Regions from separate parts of the Homo sapiens genome. Here region 2 is linked to region 1. Evidence: promoter capture Hi-C in 16 types of primary human blood cells and fetal thymus (Javierre and others, 2016). All regions are on one chromosome and are shown on one strand. Each heading gives the region's core, a stretch centred on a gene start or on the middle of the fragment in contact. The rest is flanking DNA. Distances are from core to core; before and after follow the strand shown. Region 1 holds the start of LRRFIP1 (LRR binding FLII interacting protein 1). Region 2 overlaps LRRFIP1 (LRR binding FLII interacting protein 1).

Region 1 (2,700 bases), core at 89-2,588:
TCAGTCATGAACAATGCCACAGTCAGCCCTGCCAACCCACCTGCGTCAGCTCAGGCACCCAGAGCAATGTCACCTGGATCTGCCCTCCCTCCCATGTCACTGGACTCGCTGTCTTTTCCCTGCAATGAAACCTCCAACAGCTTTCCCTGCCACTGTGGGTGGAAGGGCCCTCTTCCTCTTCCCACCTTCATACAGCTTCCAGGCCACCTCCTTAAGAATCCAAAGCAATCTGGTCACACCACTTGGTGGGAAATACACCGAAATGTTAACTGTCCTTATCACTGGGGGAAAAAAATCACAGGTGACTTCAGTACAGCCTCCTCTCCTCTACCATCACTACCCTCCCTCCCATCCTTCCCCAGGTCCAGCCACACTGAAGTTCTCCCCATACCCCAAACACACCAGTAACTTTCCCACCCGGTGCTCCTGCCGTGCCCTAGGCAGGGGCTTTTAACCCCTACCTAATCCTCCGATTTGCTTTACTTTTAAATCCACCTCTGGAGCATAGACTGTGAGCTTCAGAGAGCACAGGTAAGTTCATTACTTTTTCAACAACTAGGAGAGAGCTGCGACGCACCTGCCCCGATCCTAGAGGCTGGGGACCCACCAGAGAAGTGACAAGTCCTTGATCTCAGGGGGCAGACAGCGGGGAGAAGGATGGATGCTAGCACGGAGAACACGCGTGTAAAGACAGAAACGCACACATCCACACCATGCCGCTGTGAAGCCGGCGCCCAGGAGGCTGGCCAAGGTCACAGGAGCGGCGGTGGCGGGCGGATCCGAGCACCTCTCGGCCTGACCCCAGAGCCTAGCTCTCACCCCGGCGAGGGACTTCCACCCCGACTCACCGCGGAATGGGGAGCGCCAGGCTGAACCAAATCCTGTGCTCACCCCTCCGTGCAAACCCCTCAAGGCAACTCAGGCCTCTGAAAGCCTTCCTACCCCCCCGCTCTCCGCTCAGGTCCCCACTCAACCGGTGCCCACCGCCCTGGCGCGCGTCGCTCCGCGATTACCGGCCCGCCAAACAGTCCCCGCAAAGTCCACCCTCCGGGGCTCCCGGTCCCTCAGGTCCCGCGTGCCCGGCCCTGGGCATCCGCAGCGTCCCCGTGGTATCGGACCCCCATCGTCCCTGACACCTGGCGTCTCCGCCCCCCGCCCCCGTCCCCCGCCCCGCCGTCCCTGGCCCCTGCAGTCCCTGGCCCGCGCTGCGGACCTCCGGCTCTGGCTTCCCCCGGGTCCCCGCGGCCCCCGTCCCCCCGCGTCCCCGCGTCCCCGGCCCAGCGCCCGCTGACGCCATGACGCCGCGGCGGAGGGAGGGGCCGGGGCCGGGGCCGGGCCGGGGCGGCGCGAGCGGCTGGAGCAACGGGCCCCGCGGCAGCTGCGGGCGACGCGGTCGATGGACATGGGCACCCAGGGATCGGGGCGCAAGCGGCTCCCCAACCGGGAGCGGCTCACGGCGGAGGACGACGCGCTCAACCAGATCGCGCGGGAGGTGAGCGCTCCGGGAGGGCAGCCGGGGGGCGCCGGGCGGGCGCGGGGGCCGGACGGCTGTCAGGGTCTCTCCGGCGTCCGTCTGTCCCGCTGTGCGTCTGTGCCACTGCGCGTCCGGCTCCAGGCGGGTGGGCCGGGCAGGCGCGCGCCGGGGCGCTGATCCCCAGGCGCTGCGCCCCGGCCCCGATCTCCGAGGCCTGCGGACCCCGCACCCGTTCTCCAGCCCCGGGCCCAGCCCGCGACGCTGCGCGCCCTCCCCCACCCCGGCCACCGTCGGCCGCTGCGCCCTCGGGAGAGGAGCCGGGCGCCGCCAGCGCGCGAGGTGGCCCGGGCTGGCCGGGTGGGGGCGAGCGCCCCGCTTTGTTGTGCGGCATGGGAGGAGGCGGGGGCTTAGGCCCGACCTGGAGGCAGTGGACGGTCGCCGGAGGCCACATGGCCCTGCTGAAATGGCCGAGTCGCTCAGGTGACCATTTGTCATCCATCCATCGATGTCACTCAAGGTGCAGCTCAGAGATGAACTTGGGGATCACTGTGATTTTTCTTTCAGGACTGAGCCTGGAAACGGGTCCAGGCACACTGAAACGTCTTCATTAAAGTTTCCTGGACAGAGTTTATTGTAACTAAGATCATGTTTGGTGATGAACTTTACCTGTGACAAATTGAAGGCGCACTAGAATGGGTATTTGTACAAATGCCTTTTTTTTTTTCCTTCCGCAAGGATTCTACCTTAAGGCTAAAGAATGTACATGACATCCAGAAAGCCGTACAGGGACAGAGAGCAGCAGCTTGGGAAAAGGGGAGCCAATAGGTTGCGGCCCCAGGGGGACAAAGGAAGCTTAATTTTTGACTGTGTTCCCTTTGTACCATTTGAACTGTGTGCCAGGTGGGTGTATGAATGCAAAGAAAGTCTCTGCCTTGTAACCCGCCTTACAGGTTCTTTTCCGTGTTGGCTTTTCCACATGTGATTCTTCCCACAGGAAACACCTCCAAGCCATTTGGACTGTGGTGTCTGGCTGTATCCGTCAGATATTCTGGGGGATCTACTCTGTAACCAATCCTTAGGTGTTTGTAGTTGTAAATACCTGATTTTGCTCTTACGGACATGTGGCAGTCACTCAGTATTTGTTGACTACTGAGTGAATAAAGACTTCTGTTTTTCTCTGTATGATACAGAAAAGGGCTTTCCAGGCAAACCCTTATTCATTCCTG
Region 2 (2,700 bases), core at 75-2,574, 100 kb after region 1:
ATAAAGTAGGAGGGCTGGATGAATAAAAAACTAGTATAGAGGATATACCCCACGATGAACTTTTGCGTTTAACTATAGATTGACTAGAAATAATTTCTGAGGCCGGGCGCGATGGCTCACGCCTGTAATCCCAGCACTTTGGGAGGCCAAGGCGGGCGGATCACGAGGTCAGGAGTTCGAGACCAGCCTGACCAACATGATGAAACCCCGTCTCTACTAAAAATGCAAAAATTAGCCGGGCGTGGTGACGCACGCCTGTAATCCCAGCTACTCAGGAGGCTGAGGCAGGAGAATCACTTGAACCAGGGAGGCAGAGGTTGCAGTGAGCTGAGCTCACACTACTGCATTCTAGCCTGGGCGACAGAGCGAGACTCTGTCTCAAAAAAAAAAAAAAAAAAGAAATGATCTCTGAATCTTCTGAATTATGGCCCATAGCATCACAATGTGCCATAATTTTCAAAGACCCTGAACCAGGAACTGAAAACTCATTGACTCAGGCTGAATCACTACCCATCGGCCTGGCATGTGGCTTCTTGCAAGCAGAATGTCCACAGAGCCACCATAAAACCAGAAACAGCCTGACAAGGAAATGGCCACACCAAGCCCAAATGTTCCACCCCGTGGAGGGACTTGGTGCCACTTTAAAACTAAGAGTGGCATGTGACATGAAGCCTACTGACTTGGTTAGCTTGACTGCTGTTCCCTCCTGAGCTGCGGGGGAGCAGACGGCGGCAGGGATGCAGTTTGGGAGCTGCCAGGACTTGTACTGTCCTGGACTGGTCATTCATCCGCTCCACAAGAAAGGTCACCTTATACCTGGCTGGTTGGTCCCTGCTGATTTGTACCTGTGAATTCATTTGTGTACTGATGTCAGTTTTTCTCTTTTCTTCATTGAAACAGACAAATGGTTATGATGGAGAATTGTATGGATCACAGTCCCTGAATAGAAGATCTGGCAGGGTTAGTATAGTAAATTTGCATGGCTCAAAATTCAAATAGGTTGTTTCAAAGCTTCTAGAACTAAAAACTAATTGCTAAATTTAAATTTAGCTTCTTTGCTGTTTTTAAATTTTAAAATCGGTCTGTCTTTTTTTTCCTAGCACATGATGGAATGAAAGATAATGTTTTTCAACTAGCAAACATTCTGAGAATGTTAGCCCTCCAACATTCTGATTGTTAGTATAAGGGGTAGATATTGATAAGAATCTCAAGTTTTAAAAGATCTGAAATTAAAGATTAACTCTTTCATTACTGTATTCCCCTGGGTGTATGTATATAATGTGTGTATTAAGTATATTCAGCTTTCAAAGATACTAAATCCAACATTTTCGCAGTCTCCACATCTGTCATTTGTAATTTTAATGTTTACCTTAAAGGCATGTGTACAAGCACCTGTGTTTTTCTGGAGAGGAAAAGGAGAATAAAACAATGCAGATGCTTGGAAGGCTCCCAGTTAAGGGGTGGGAGGCAGGAAGGAGCTGGTGGAAGGAAAGGGTGCTGCTCTAGGGGGAGAGAGAGGGAGTGGTGCCAGTGGCAGGGGCATTAGGGAGACCGGGCGGGGGTGGGGAGGGCTTTGGATTAATCAAGGACAGGAGGTCATTGGGGATTTTAGAAGGTTACACTGGATACATTTCCATTAAGCTTCACGATATCCCACAGGTCCATTCTGTGTGAAATGGTCTAAAAATTTCCTGTTCTCATGCTTCATTTTTTTCTTTTAGTAATATTCCTAATTGTGTAAAATAGTATTTCTTTTCATTTATCTTAATTATGTTATATTAAGATATCATGTGTATGCTTAAATTATACTTTTGGGCTTCAAATGAGTGACCCCACCCAGACCTTCTTCCCTCTCCCCGACCAAAGCCGTCTTTAGCTTTCTGAAACCAGCTGATCAAGTTGTTTTTACTTGCTCATTCCTATTTACCTATTTAGCATTGCATGCACTTTAATTATTTATTTTTTGAGACAAAGTCTCGTGCCCTCACCCAGGCTGGAGTGCAGTGGTGCTATCTCAGCTCACTGCAACCTCTGCCTCCTGGGTTCGAGCGATTCTCCTGCCTCAGCCTCCCAAGTAGCTTGGATTACAGGCATCCACTACCACACCTGGCTAATTTTTTTTGTATTTTTTAGTAGAGATGGAGTTTCACCCTGCTGGCCAGGCTGGTCTCGAACTCCTGACCTCAGGTGATCTGCGCACCTCGGCCTCCCAAAATGCTGGGATTACAGGCATGAGCCATGGCACCCGGCTGGATGCGACATTTTAAAAATGTATACTCAAGACACGTAAAGATGGCCTTCAGGGCATTTGCACTCTGTGGATAAGGGCTCTCCAGTGGACGGGTGGCAGCAGGCTGTCACACTCCACCCACCTTTCTGGCACCCCAGGGCTGAGCTATAGCCCGCAGGCGGGCTGGGCTGAAGAAAGATTGAAAATTTTGCAATAAATGGAATTTTAGTTACCCAAGGAGATAAGACAAGGAGTTTACTGACAACGCAGTGTGAAACTCAGTAATTACGAATCGTGCTAGGGATATGAGATTGTGAAAAGCAGTACTAGATACACCCCTGGCATCACCAAGACACAAACACTGAAGGTGAAAATACAGCTTAGAATCTCCAGTTGTTAAGAATCTCTGCTGTACTGTTTGTGCCTCGCGTCTTTAGATAAACTAGCGTTCCTGGGCTCCTAGTGTTGGC

Evidence for each region. Contacts are between HindIII fragments. The CHiCAGO score rates a contact against its expected background, and 5 or more counts as called.
Region 2: a contact is called between a fragment that was not itself captured here and the fragment with the promoter of LRRFIP1 in region 1, in 3 of 17 cell types (total B cells, naive B cells and monocytes). The highest score is 9.1, in total B cells.

What each region holds. Positions count from the first base shown.
Region 1 is chr2:237,626,249-237,628,948 of GRCh38, forward strand. LRRFIP1 (LRR binding FLII interacting protein 1) reads left to right here and starts at 1,339. Exons shown (of 24, transcript NM_001137550.2): 1 at 1,339-1,492. The coding sequence starts at 1,397. The HindIII fragment of the contact is 5,154 bases long and covers 1-2,324 here.
Region 2 is chr2:237,726,976-237,729,675 of GRCh38, forward strand. It overlaps LRRFIP1 (LRR binding FLII interacting protein 1), which reads left to right. Exons shown (of 24, transcript NM_001137550.2): 8 at 901-960. Among named protein-coding and RNA genes, the nearest start is that of RBM44, 70 kb to the right of the region's middle. The HindIII fragment of the contact is 630 bases long and covers 1,010-1,639 here.